2 separate regions of the Homo sapiens genome follow, and region 2 is linked to region 1. Evidence: promoter capture Hi-C in human tissues and cell types (Jung and others, 2019). All regions are on one chromosome and are shown on one strand. Each heading gives the region's core, a stretch centred on a gene start or on the middle of the fragment in contact. The rest is flanking DNA. Distances are from core to core; before and after follow the strand shown. Region 1 holds the start of ZFP1 (ZFP1 zinc finger protein). Region 2 overlaps GLG1 (golgi glycoprotein 1).

The links. Contacts are between HindIII fragments. The study calls those that stand out against the background at their distance.
Region 2: a fragment that was not itself captured here is called in contact with the fragment with the promoter of ZFP1 in region 1 in 1 of the 25 tissues and cell types used here (dorsolateral prefrontal cortex).

What each region holds. Positions count from the first base shown.
Region 1 is chr16:75,145,784-75,153,069 of GRCh38, reverse strand. It overlaps ZFP1 (ZFP1 zinc finger protein), which reads right to left and starts at 4,546. Exons shown (of 4, transcript NM_153688.4): 1 at 4,427-4,546; 2 at 104-161. The coding sequence starts at 118. RefSeq lists a silencer at 3,956-4,325 and an enhancer at 4,686-4,735. The HindIII fragment of the contact is 27,656 bases long and covers 1-7,286 here.
Region 2 is chr16:74,554,755-74,562,040 of GRCh38, reverse strand. All of the region lies in intron 1 of GLG1 (golgi glycoprotein 1), which reads left to right. Among named protein-coding and RNA genes, the nearest start is that of GLG1, 49 kb to the left of the region's middle. RefSeq lists a silencer at 4,283-4,483. The HindIII fragment of the contact is 4,018 bases long and covers 680-4,697 here.

The DNA.
Region 1 (7,286 bases), core at 3,297-5,796:
TTCCTTTGTGTCTTATTCATACTTTTCTATTTCATTTTCTGGATCCTTATAAACTTCCTTAAATGCACTGAAAAGCAAAATGGGGAATAAACAAACAACTCACCTGGGATTTGTTCATTTTCTGCAGTTTTGGGCAAAGGCAGAGAACTATGAAGGCAGAACTGGAATAGAGGAAAAAGGAAGGCATTGTTATTAAAGGTCTGACCTGCCTTACAACTCCTAGAATGACTTGTTTAGAAACCCCTAGAGACCACCTGGGAAAATACCACCTCCTGGGAAAGTCCCTTTGCCTCTTCAGAAGGGGCAGAAAAGATCATACTAACAGCACCTATCTTCAATCTAACATTATCAGACACCCATAAAGGCAAGACTAAGATAATCCACTATCAAAAGAGGCAAAACAATCAACAGAACCCTCAACTGCTGAAATTATCAGACAGGGCATTTAACACAACTATGATTCATATACTAAAGGCTTTACTAGAAAAGGTGGACAACATGAATAAACAAATAGGGAATTTCAGCAGAGATGGAAACTGCAAGAAAAAATCAAATGGAAATGCTAAGAAAAGTACAGTAACAGAGTTGATCTTTCAGCAGGTTCATTAGTAGACAAAGGAGCTAAGAAAAGTTTCAGTAAACTTGAAGATAGGTCAAACTGAAACTCAAAGAGAAATGGAAGAAAAACATAAAAGGATAGAGCATCCAAGGGCTGTGAGACAATATCAAATGGTCTAATAAACATGTAACTGAAATTCCAAAAGGAGAAAAGAAGTATTTGAAGACATAATGGACAAGAATTTTCCAAAAATAATAATATGAAACCACAGGTCCAAGAAACTCAATTTATCCAAACAGGGAAAATACCAAAAACTAAACTCAAACAAAAACACACATGGACACATCGTATCCAAACAAATGAAAACCAAAGTTAAAATCTTCAAAGTAGCCAGAGGAAAAAAGACATATTATATGTAGAAAAATCAAGATAATGAATCATAGCCACCTTCTCATCAGAAACTAAGCCAGAAAACAAAGTAGTGACATCCTGAAAGTGCTTTCACAACAACAAAAAAGCAACTAAAGCAAAAAACTATTAACTCAGAATTCTATACCCAGCAAAAATATCTTTCAAAAATGATAATGAAGTAAAAAACCTTTTTCAAACAACAAAAACATAGCGAATTCATTATCAGTAGACCTGCACTAGAAGAAATGTTTAATGAAGTTATTTAAATAGAAGAAATATGATATCAGACAAAAACCTGAATCTACACAAATAAATGAAAATCTCGAGAATCGTTAAAATGAGGATCAACACAATAGATACTTTTTCTTGCTTTTAATCACTGTGAAAGATTATCTAAAGCAAAAATAGTAGCAAAGTTTTGTGGGTTTACAGCATATGTCAATATTCTGCAACATGTATGACAACAATAATGCAAAAGACGGGAGGATGAAATTGGGAGTATAATGTTCCAAGTATATTGACATAAAACAGTATGATATCTTTAAAGTTCCACTAAACTTTAGGGTAACAACCAAAAACTCTGTTAAATTTTTACAAATATACAATAAGACAACAGTGGAGATAAAATGTAATTATAAAAAAGACCCACTTAAGACAAAAGTAGACAGAAAAAAAGGTAAACAGAAACAAAGACCAAATAAGAAAAACAGAAAAAAACCAGCAAGATGGTAGACTTTAACACAACTATATCAATAATTGGCATAAACACACCAATTAAATAACAGAGGTCAAATTATATAAAAAAAGTAAGACCAAACCATGTGCTGTCTATAAGCAGTTTGTTTAAAATATAAAAACATAGCTACATTCAAAGTAAAAGGATGATCAGTTGTAGGAGTCAGGAAATTAAAAAAAAAAAAGATAAAAGAATGGAAAAAGAGGGTCAGGCACAGTAGCTCATGCCTGTAAACCCAGCACTTTGGGAGGCAAAGGTGGGTGGACTGCTTGAGCCCAGGGGTTTGAGACCAGCCTGGGCAACATGGCAAAACCTCGTCTCTACAAAAAATACAGAAAATTAGCTGAGTGTGGTGGCTCACACCTTGAGTCCTAGCTACTCCGGAGGCTGAGGCAAAAGGATTAGGGCGCACACCTGCAGTCCTAGCTACTCGGGAGGCTGAGGCAAAAGGTTTGAGGTTGCAGACAGCTGTGACTGAACCACTGCACTCCAGCTTGGGCAACAGAGACAGACCCTGTCTCAATCAATCAATCAATCAAGGAAGATTCTACGATCAACAGCACAATATTTATTCAAATACACACGAAACAGTTACCCAGAGAGATCATCATATCCTCGACCTTAAAACAAACTACAACAGGCCTGGTGCAGTGGCTCACGCCTGTAAAGCACTTTGGGAGGCCAAGGTCAGCGGATCACTTGAGACCAGGAGTCTACTAAAACAAAATGAAACAAAAATACAATACAAAAACAAACCACAACAAATTTAAAATAATTGAAATTCGTAACACAGTATTCTGACCAAATCAGAATTAAACTATAAATCAATAATATAAAAAGATCTGGGCCGGGTGCGATGGCTCACGCCTGTGATCCCAGCACTTTGCAAGGCCGAGGCAGGTGGATCACCAGGTCAGGAGATAGAGACCATCCTGGCTAACACGGTGAAACCCCGTCTCTACTAAAAATACAAAAAAAAATAAAAAAATTAGCCAGGTGTAGTGGCGGGCGCCTGTAGTCCCAGCTACTCTGGAGGCTGAGGCAGGAGAATGGTGTGAACCTGGTAGGCGGAGCTTGCAGTGAGCCGAGATCTCGCTACTGCACTCCAGACTGGGCAACAGAGCGAGACTCTGTCTCAAAAAAAAAAAAAAAAAGATCTGGAAAATCTCCAAAAACTTGGAAATTATGCAATACAATCTAAATAAATAAGGGTAAAAAATGAAGTCACAAGGGAAGTTAAAAAAATTTGAATTGAATGGTAATGAAAACACAATAAAAAGGCTGGGTGCAGTGGTTCATGCCTGTAATCCCAGCACTTTGGGAAGCCAAGGCGGGAGAATCACTTGAGGTCAAGAGTTCTAGAGCAGCCGGGCCAACATGGTGAAACCCCGTCTCTACTAAAAATACAAAAATCAGCCAGGTGTAGTGGCGGGTGCCTGTAATCCCAGCCAGGAGGACTGCTTGAACCCGGGAGGCAGAGGTTTCAGTGAGCTGAGTGCCACTGCACTCCAGCCTGGGTGACAGAGTGAGACTCAGTCTCAAAAACAACAACAACAGAAAAGAAAATACAAGATATAAAAATTTGAGTGATGTAGTTAAAGTAGTATTTAGAGGAACAGTTACATCAATAAATTGTGTCTGGCCGGACGCGGTGGCTCACGCCTGTAATCCCAGCTACTCGGGAGGCTGAGGCAGAGCACTACTTTAACCCAGGAGGCGGAGGTTGCAGTGAGCCGAGATCAAGCCACTGCACTCCAGCCTGGACGACAGAGCGAGACTCCGTCTCAAAAAAAAAAAAAAAAAAAAGAAAGTAAAGAAAAGAAACGGTACAATACAAAAATATAGTATTACAATCACATAGGACCACCATTTTACATGAGGTCCCTCGTTGACAGAAACACTGTTACGCAGAGCGTGACTGCACCAGAATCATGGGAAAACTTTCGTATTTCAAAGTAGTGAAGAATTTTGGGTGCCCCAAACGGAAAGAACAGTAAATTCCACCCGAGAGAAATTTAAAACGTCAAAACGTATACATGGCAAAATCTACCAGCGAGTAAAATCAAAAGATAAATGAAAAAATATCTGCTGCTCACATAAAGTACCACCGGGTTGTGAGACCTTAGGGAAATCACTTTCCCCTTCTGAACCTCCCGTGTTCCTGGGATAGCGACGGAGATGATAACGCTGGAAGTCACGGGGTGGATGCGAGGATCAGGGGAACACCTCACTGAAGACCCTCTGACAAAGGGATCACGGTTCTCCTTCACCACCGGCAACTGACCAGGCTCCAGTCCTTCCTCCACCCACGAGGCACCGGGCATCGGGGCGTGGCCAGGTGTGTCAGGCCACGCCCCCACCACGCCCCGGCGGGGCCTCGTCCCGCGCGCGCGCGCCCGCCGGGGCTCCAGAACTCGCTCCCGCGCGGCCCGAGCCCTTCGCCGCCCGTCTGAGGCGCATCTCCTGACAAAGAGAAGAAGGCGAAGCCTCATAGCCGCCCTTCCCTCCGCCGTCCCCGCCCCCGCACGTTCGGCCAGGCGTGCCCCGCCGGCCCCGTTCAGAGGCGAGCGCCGGGCAACCCCGGACGCCGCCCTGAGGGTCACTGCCGCCTACGAGTAGCCGAAGTTTGGGCTCCCACCCTGCGCGGGCACGAGCCCATCCCTCATCTCCTTCCCCTCGGCCCCAGGCCGCGCGGAGCTACCTGGAAGCCCCTCTCGTACCTGGAGGGGCGCAGCCTCCACTCGTGGCCCAGTGCCACAGCGGGTCACGGCGCAGGGCGGCGAAGACGCGCGGAGACGGGGGCTCTGTCACCCACTCGCCGCTGGTGGTGGGGGAAGGGCGGCCACCGGCGCGCTCGCAGCACTGCACATGCGCAGAAACAGGGGCGCGGGCCGTTCCCAGGGTCCTCGGAGGGGTGGACCATCCACGTTCGGGACTACATTTCCCACAAGCCTCCGGGGCCGCGGCTTTAGGGACTCTCAGGAAAGTCTTCGCCTTGTTAGGCGGTCTGATGAGCCGACCAAAATAATCTCCTTAGCCTGCACTGTTTTCTTTTTTCCCAGAGTGGGTCGTGAACTACAATTCACCACCTCCCCCTTAAATACAACAACTTGGCTTTTAAACATTACACAAATAATCTATAACTGTATTTAATTAGAATATATGTACAAAATAAAGTATCCATAATCTCACTTTCTAAAGATTAACTGCGTATAACATTAAGTTCGCACTTTGATTTTTTTGTTGTTGTTACAAAACTGGCCATAAAGGTATCATGTGCTGCAACTAGCTTTTTTCCCTTTTTTCCCAGGCCACTTTGTTGAGGTATATATATTTGTTGAGATCTATATATTTAAGATGTACAACTTGATATCTACATTTGTGAAATATTCACCATAATCAAGCTAATTAACATGTGCATCACCTCACATAGTTATTTGTCTGATGAGAACACTTAAGATCTATCTTCTTAGCAAATTTCAAGTACACAATATTGTCAACTATCGTCACATAGCTGTGCATCTCCCCAGAACTACTCATCTTGCATAACTGAGACTTTGTACCCCTTGACCACCATCTTCCCATTTCCCTTCACCCTCAGTTCCTTTCATCCTTTAGAACAGTTTTAGGTTCACAGCAAAATTTGAGCAGAAAATACATTGAATTCCCATATAACCCATGTCCCCCCAGCACACACAACCTCCCCAAAGTTGATATCCCACACCAGAACAGTGTATTTGTTACAATTGGTGAACCTACAGTTAAATATCAGCACCTGGCCAGGCTCAGTGGCTCACACCTGTAATCCTAGCACTTTGGGAGCCTGAGGCAAGCAGATTGCTTGAGCCGAGGAATTTGAAACCAGCCTGGCCAAAATGGTGAAACCTCATCTCTTAAAAAAAAAAAAAAAATACAAAAATTAGCCGGGCATGGTGGCACGCACCTGTAGTCCCAGCTACTCGGGAGGCTGAGGTGGGAGGATCACTTGAGCCTGGGAGGCTGAGGTTTCAGTGAGCCAAGATTGTGCCACTGCACTCCAGCTTGGGTGACCCTGTCTCAAAAAGTATAAATTAAAAAACAAAATCATTGGCACCCAAAGTCCATAGCTTACATTAGTGTTCACTTGATGTTGTACATTCTATGGGTCTTGACAAATGCCTGTAACCATTACAGTATCGTACAGAATAGTTTCACTGCCCCCCAAAAAATCATCTGTGCTCCATTTATTCATCCATCCCACAACCCCTGGAAATCTCTGATATTTTTACTGTCTCCATAGTTTTGCCTTTTGCAGGTTGTCATATAGGTGGAATCATACATATGTTGCTTTTTCAGATTGGCTTCTTTCATTTAGTAATATACATTTAAGTTTCCCTCATGTTTCCCTCAAGTTACCCTGGCTTTTTTTTTTTTTTTTTTTTTTTGACACAGGGTCTCACTCTGTCACCCAGGTTGGAGTGCAGTGGTGCGATCATGGCTCACTGCAGCCTCCACTTCCTGGGCTCAAGTGACCCTCCCAGTTCAGCCTCCCAAGTAGCTAAAACTACAGGCATACACAGCCATGCCTGGGTAATTTTTTGTATTTTTTGTAGAGATGGCATTTTGCCATGTTGCCCAGGCTCGTCTCAAACTCCTGGGATCAAGAAATCCTCCTGCCTTGGCCTCCCAAAGTGCGGGGATTATAGGGATGAGCCACTGTGCCCAGCCTCAGTTCGTTTTAGTGCTGCATAATATTCTACTGTCTGCATGTACCAGTGTTTTAAATCCATTCACCTACTGAAGATACATTGGTTGCTTCTAAGTTTTGGCAACTATGAATAAAGCTGCTCTAAACATCTGTGTTCAGGTTTTGTGAGGATATAAGTTTCCAGTTCATTTGGGTAAATCGTATGGTTGCGGCCGGGTGCAGTGGCTCACGCCTGTAATCCCAGCACTTTGGGAGGCCGAGGCGGGCGGATCACGAGGTCAGGAGATCGAGACCATCCTGGCTAACACAGCGAAACCCTGTCTCTAATAAAAATACAAAAATAAAAATTAGCCGGGCGTGGTGGCGGGCACCTGTAGCCTCGGCTACTTGGGAGGCTGAGCCAGGAGAATGGCGTGAACCTGGGAGGCGGAGCTTGCAGTGAGCCGAGATTGCACCAATGAACTCCAGCCTGGGCGACAGAGCGAGACCCCGTCTCCAAAAAAAAAAAAAAAAATTAGCATGGTTGCTGGATTGTGTGGTAACAGTATGTTAATGAGACAGGAGAGTTCCCTGGACCCCTTCGCGGGACTTGTCGTGGCTAGCTTACTCAGCCACTGTGCTAAAACCCCTTATGGGAGGGGGAGCACAGAGGCAAGTGGGTGCCAGGGCCAGGGTGAGCACCTTTGGGCTCTGGCCCCATGGTAGCATCTAGGGGTGTGTTACAATTAATGCTCTTCTAGCAGTTGCCATCCATGGACAGCTAAGCGTTAACCAGCTCAGTGGAGAGTGAGGGTGACAGCCTTTTACACCCTGCCCTCTTAATACCCAGGTCCTTGTCCAGCATCCAGAAAGGATCAGGTCACATGGACTTGAAGAATGGTAAATGCAGAGGT
Region 2 (7,286 bases), core at 1,439-3,938, 590 kb after region 1:
TTGAAAATGACAGTTGAATGAAATTCCTCTATAAGTGTTCCAATGACCCATCAGGTAGCTGAAGTTTTAATTATCTTCCCAGGTTGTAGGTTTGATAAGCCAAACCTTGGTCATAAACCATTTTTAGCGATTTAGAGCAGTCACCACACCAATGTATATGTTTTCTATTTGGATCATTTTCTGTCTTCCATGATGAGTCATGGAGTGCAGAGCTTTTAATAATGGAAGATTTACGGATTCAGGAAGGACCAGGTGGCTGTGCAGGATCTCTGTGATTCCATGCTTAACATTGCATTTATAGCCTGTTAAATACCAATTTTGTATCTCCAATTCAGGTGCATAGCACTGTTCATTAAATGGGTTATCATAGGTAATTTGACTTGGAACATAGAGTTCATTCAAGTTGCATATCTTAACAGTTTTAGTACTGGCTGATTTAGCATGAAAATCTGGCAGAGTATTTTTCTTAGTATTCAGTTAATTTTTGTCCTGCTTGGGTTAGCAGTTTTATAAACCAGTCTCTTTATTAAAGTTCTGGGAATTCTTACCCAGTCCAAATTAGATGAGCCTAAAGTTATCAGAAACTTGTATTCAGTAGTGCTTATTAGGGTCCTTTCCATTACTTTCCATGAACGTTCTTGAAGACATAATGCTCTAGGATTTTACTTGGTTGTAAAGAGCTTAAAGAAAATGCATCCGTATAAAGCAATTAACTGTGGAAACAAAATGATCATGGTTAAAGACATAATTGACAAGAAAATTTGGTTGTGGTCATGAAGGGTGTGAGGGTGCAGGCCTAGGTGCCAATATTGGGGGCAGGGACCTCAGCCTTCTGAGGCTACTCACAGGCATGCTGCCCCCCATGCCCAGCTCTGACACCAGCAGGAGGAAGGTGCTGGCTGCTGCAGGATCCTGGCTTGCTGCCTGTTGGCCCCGATCCTGCCCCATCCCTCCAGCTGGGCACCCCCAGGTGCTGCCATGCAACCAAGCAGGACTGTGCAGGACTGCGCAGGACTGCGTGGTGCCAGACTATATCTCTTCTAAAAATTCATTCAATTTGAAATAACCTTTAAATAACTTTTTTTCTCAGCAAACACATATTTTTATGCCTTTATAGCTTTCCTTACAAAAACATATCTTACTTTCTTTACATATTCTATATACAGAATTGCTTCTCTCTTTCCTTCCTTCTTTCCCTCCCTTCCTCCCTTCTTTTTTTCTTTCGAGATGGGATTGCTGTGTTGCCCAGTCTGGTCTCAATCAAACTCCTGGCTTCCAGAGATCCTCCTGCCTCAGCCTCCAAGTAGCTGGGGTTACAGGCCTAAGCCACCATGCCCAGCTCAGGTTTAATTTTTCTTACAATTAGTTGCTTAAGCTTTGCCTTTTATAAAGAGTTTTTAGGGCTAGGCGCAGTGGCTCATGCCTGTAATCCCAGCACTTTGGTAGGCTGAGGCAGGCAGATCACCTGAGGTCAGTTCAAGGCCATCCTGGCCAACATGCTGAAACCCATCTCTACAAAAATACAAAAATTAGCTAGGCTTGATGGCAGTCAAGTTACTAGTTACTGCGGGGGCAGGGGGGCGGCGGGGGGAGGCTGAGGTGGCAGAATCGCTTGAACCTGGAAGACGGAGGTTGCAGTGAGCTGAGATCGTGCCATTGCACTCCAGCCTGGGCGACAGAGTGAGACTCCGTCTCAAAAAAAAAAAAAAAAAAAGACAAAAACTGAGGTCCCAATTCAAAGCAGTTAGGAGGAAATCCCCCCTTTCTTTGATTCTGGAGTCCTGGGGGAGCTTCAGCCTTTTTGTTCTATTCAGACCTTCAACTGATGGAATGGGACCCACCCACATTGGGAAGGACAGTCTGCTTTGCTAGTCTGCCTGTCCAAGTGCTAATCTCATCCAAAAACAGCACCGTAGACCCACCCAGAACAATGTTTGGCGAAACGCGTGTGGCCCAGTGAAGTTGACACAAAAAATTAACCATCATCCTCATAAAATACCTAGTACAATCTGAATAAAATGTGTACCATTGTTGGTTCTTTAGTTGTGACAGATTGCACTATATAAAGTAAGCTATTAACAATAGGGGAAAATGAGAAGGCATATGGGAACTCTGTGTGCTGTCTTCTCAACTTTTCCATTAAGTCTAAAATTCTCCAGTGGTTTATTTTTTAAAATAATAAATTCAAAATAAAATTATGTTTTAGGCATGTTACATTTTAGGTGACAGTGGACATTCAAAGTGAATACATTAAGAAACTGAAAATACATATGTCAGAAGGCTGAAGATGAAAAATGAAGTCTTCATCAATAGAGACATGATACGAAGACGTAATCTCGGTGGGAATGAGTAATGAAGAAAAAGCAGGCAAAGAATTAAGTTCTAAGAATGTCTAGAATTAGAAGGGAAGAAGAGATCCAAGACTATCTGCATATTTCACTCTCTAAAATTAAGATGAGAGAGGTTTGAGGAGGAGAGAGCCTGGCCTAAAGAGGACAGAGGATTAAGGAAGAGTTATATTTTTATTTGACTGTATTTGTGTTGTCCCCTGCCCCCCCATCGCCCCTCCTCCCCCAGCCTTACCCTCACCTTTTCTAGAGACAGGATCTCCCTCTGTCACCCAGGCTGGAGTGCAGTGGTGTGATCATAGCTTGCTGCAGCCTCAAACTCCTGGGCTCAAACGATCCTCCTGCCCTCAGCCTCCTGAGTAGCTTGGATTACAGTTGCACACCACCATGCCCAGCTAAGTTTTTTTTTTTTTAAACAGCAGGAAGCCTAAAGATGGGTAAAAAGGATTACTTCTGATAGTAAAAGTCATATGAAGCAGGAAATAAGGAAATGTACTCAGATACCTCGTTTAAAAAATAAAAGGCCAGGCCCAGTGGTTCAGGCCTGTAATCCCTGTACTTTAGGAGGCTGTGGCAGGAAGACTGCGTGAAGCCTGGAGTTCATGACCAGCCTGGGCAACATAGCAAAAAAATCTAAAAAATGAGTCACACATAGTGGGATACACCTATAGTCCCAGCTGCTCAGGAGGCTGAGGTGGGAGAATTGCTTGAGCCCAGTTCTGGGATGCAGTAAGCTATGTCTGTGTGACTGCATTCCAGCCTGGGTGACGGAGTGAGACCCCGTCTCTAAGAAAATATAAAAAGTAAAAAGAAGATGTACAGTCTGTGACAAAATAGGTAATAGAATTAGGTTAAATTTTATTTTATTGTAAGCCATAATTAAATGTTTGAAGACAGATTGAAACATTTATCTGCCCTTCTCTTTTCTTCTGACTATTCTAATCCACCATGAAACTCGTAGGGTCAAAATAGTTAATATAGGAAACTTTCCGCATCCTTTGGGGGTAAGAAATAAGTTACAAAAAAATTTTAAAGCTAAAAATAAAATTGGAGATTTCTTCACATTTTCTAAAAATGTCTTAAGGTTCTCAAGTCCTGAAATTTACAAATGTGTGTGTATCCATGGAAACATGGGCGAAAGCCATGCAGGTTAAAGTCAGACTCAAATGTTGTAAAGCAGGTGCTCAGCGAGTTAACAAATATTATAAAATCCTAAATTATACTTAACCTTTTTGGTATAATCTTCAGTAATACAGTTCAAACATTTGTGCACACACTTTCATTTTATTATCCATTATTCATAATTGAGCACATGGAAGGCTGGCTTAACACCTGAAAGCAATCTGTTACATTGAGATGCTTCTTTTTGCTGATACTAACACTTGCATTTTCCCCCAAATCCAATAAAATACTCTAATAATTTCACAGAGATGCATCAATGTGGTGATACTGCCAAAAGTGAAATGTTGGTGAGCCAGTACCACCTTCACTCAGTAGCTCAAAAGTTTGTCAGCTGGTGAACACAAAATATAAAATCCACATTGAAAAGCCTCTTAGGTACATAAGTATATAATATATGAAAATCAGACTGTGAAAGTTGAAGACCATCTGTGAATAAAAATGCAAATATTTTAAATTTTTAACTACCTACAGTTTCAGGGTTTTACTGCTTTCCTTATGTGTGTGTCTAGCATTTAAAATTTTTCTATTTTGTTCAGCATATGTTCTTTACAAATGAGTGGTATGTCTTCCATAAAAAAGGACTCATTATCCCCTCAGCACAATCTTCAAGACAGGACACTTTCTATGGCCAGGCCTGGTGGCTCACGCCTGTAATCCCAGCACTTTGGGAGCTGAGGCAGATGGATTACTTGAACCCAGGAGTTGAAGACCAGCCTAGAAAGCATGGTGAAACCCCAACCCTACCAAAAAAAAAAAAGACACACAGGACACTTTCTACCAAGGAACCAGCTGGCTGCTTCCAGATAGCTGCACCAGACTTCTTTCAGATGCTTCTGGGATATGGTCTTCTGACCATGTTCTTTAGCCTCCTTTGCTTCCTGTTACCTGCTCAGTCTCAAGAGCTCCTGACTCAGGCTTTTGGTCTGTTTTCCTGAAATCTTCTGCGTCTGGACTAGTATCTGAATTAACTATGCCTAGAGTTTTGGCCTACTAGTATCTGCAAAGCATTCTCACTTCCACCTGCTCACACTCTTGGGCTAAGTGGTCACCCATAAGTAAGCCTATGCTCTGGCCCCTCCCCAGACCTAAAGAGAGCTTCTTGCCTCTCCCCAGACCTAAAGAGAGCTTCTTGCCTATTTTGCTATCTAAAGACCTCTATGATTAAAATTTTCCTTTAATTGAGTCTCACAGCTTTACTTCAGCACACTTACTATTACATAGTAATGGATAAGCAGGAAATAAAGATCTACAAAAGTCAAACAAATCATATATAGTTATAGAAACATTTGTAATATTTGAGGTAAGGATTTACAAAGCTGTTTTATCAAAGGTCCTGGGTTTCTTCTAGTTTACTTAGCTCTTTATACAATGATTGTAATAACCACAAACTTTTTGCTAACCCCACACCAATTAGGGGTGCTGTTGAAACTGGTCAGATGCAAAAATATAAAGATTCTTTCTACTGCTTATCTTTAATGTATGGGGAGTAAATCTTCCTCCTGCCAAATTATAAAGTACTTCACTGTTCCTGAGCAGTGAAAATTAGAATATATTTTATTTATGAGAATGCATTTAAATAATTGCTGTATTATTTAAAAGCTATATTATTAGAGTTGTTCTTATCAGCCTACATATGGAAATAGTCTGTAAACAGACTGTTACACAGTTTCAGCTATTCTCTTACTCATTGGCTAAAGACTATTAGGTTGTAATAATAATATTATTTTATATATTTTTATTAGTAATAATATTTATTATAATATATATATTTGAGACAGAGCAAGACCTTGTCTCAAAATTATGTATATATAAAATAATAAAAAAATAATAATATTATTCCAACCTGCCACCCAGGTTGGAATGCAGTGGTATAATCCTAGCTCACTGCAGCCTCTGATGGCTAGGCTTAAGCATTCCTCACACCTCTGCCTCCCCAGTAGCTGAGACCACAGGCATGAACCACCACGCCCAGCTGACTATTTTATTTGTAGAGGCATTGTCTCACCAGGTTGCCCCAGAGTGTATTAGATTATTTTGTGTATAATCTGTATATTTCATACTAAAGTTGGTTTAAATAAATTGTTTGGGTTAGCCCCAAACAAAACCAAAAATTTTATGGAAAGAGGTCCATTTTTCCTAGTCAAAGAACTTTAAATTTTCTAGTAAAGTATTTAAAGTCATGATTTATTGTAAAATGGTAAGATAATCAATAGCTACTTACTGTTGCTTGTTTCCAGCACCTAACTGTATATCTTATTGTAATGGATCTTTCCTGTAGGACTATTTCACTTTGTTATAGTAAGAGTAAGAGGGACATTTTGTGATTTAGGAATTTGTAATTAACTGTTAACTGTAATATAAAGTAGGCGATTTATTCTTACCAGTGGCTCATGCCTATAATCCCAGCACTTTGAGAGGCTAAGGTGGGAGCATTGCTTGAGCCCAGGAGCTGGAGACTAGCTCAGGCAACATAGTGAGACCCTTCTCTACAAAAAAATTAAAAATTGGCCTCATGTGATGGCATGTGCCTGTAGTCCCAGGGATTCAGGAAGCTGAGGCGGGAGGATTGCTTGAGCCCAGAAGAGTGAGGCTGCAGCGAGCCATGATCGTGCCACTACACTTCACCCTGGGTGATACAGCGAGACCAAGACCCTGTCTCAAAAGAAAAAGAAAAAAAAAAAGATGAATTATCACCAGCTATAATTGTCTTTGTGTGACTTAGTGACTTGATTTTTCCACAGAAATCTTTTAAATCTTAGGCTAATTGTTCCTGAAACCCAGCATGTTTCTTTTCTTTCTTTCCTTTTTCTTCTTTTCTTTAGAGACAGGGATCTCTCTCTGTTGCCCAGGCTGGAGCACAATGGAGGAGTCACAGCTCACTGTAGCCTTGAATTCCTGGCTTAAGTGATCCTCCTGCCCCAGCCTCCCAAGCAGCTAGGACTACAGGCACACACCACCACACCTGGCCAATCTTTTAATATTTTTTTGTAGAGATGAGGTCTCTCTGTGTTGCCCAGGCTGGTCTTGAACTCCTGGGCTCAAGCAGTTGTCTTGCCTCAGCCTCCCAAAATGCTGGGATTATAGGTGTGAGCCACCGCACCCAGCCTGGAATCCCATTTTAAATGTACTGATGGAGTTGACAATGTCAAGGAAACTTGCGTTAATTTTTAAATTTTGTTTTTTGTGTAGTGGATCCTTTCACAACATGAATAATTGCCCAATTTTATGTTCTGTCAATCTAGGACAGACCACTAGATAAGACAAGATTATAATTTGGGGAGTTGGCTTTCTTGATCAGTTTTCAGTGAAGGAAAAGTTACAATTTGTAAACTTATTTTTAACACCACCATAGTGATCATTTGATCAGTTTGTGAGAATGGCCCATCTGGTGGGTATCTCCAAGCACAGTTACAACTGTTTTTTCTTTTTTCCCGTTTTATCACAAAGTCTTATAAACTGAAGGCAATTATATGTTTTTATTATTTATTTATTTTAGACACAGGGTTTTGCTCAGTCGCTCAGGTTGGAGGGCAGTGGTGAGATTATAGCTCATTGCAGCCTCAAACTCCTGGGTTCTGGCAATCCTCACACCTCAGTCTCCTAAAGCACTGGGACTATACGTGCATGCCACCATGTTTGGCTGCAGTTACATCTTTTTATGTTAGTGTGTGATCTTTATTTGGGCATCTGTCAGTAGGTCCACTGTTGAACAGAGAACTAGTTAAAGTGACAAACAATGATGTCATTTGCTTTGCA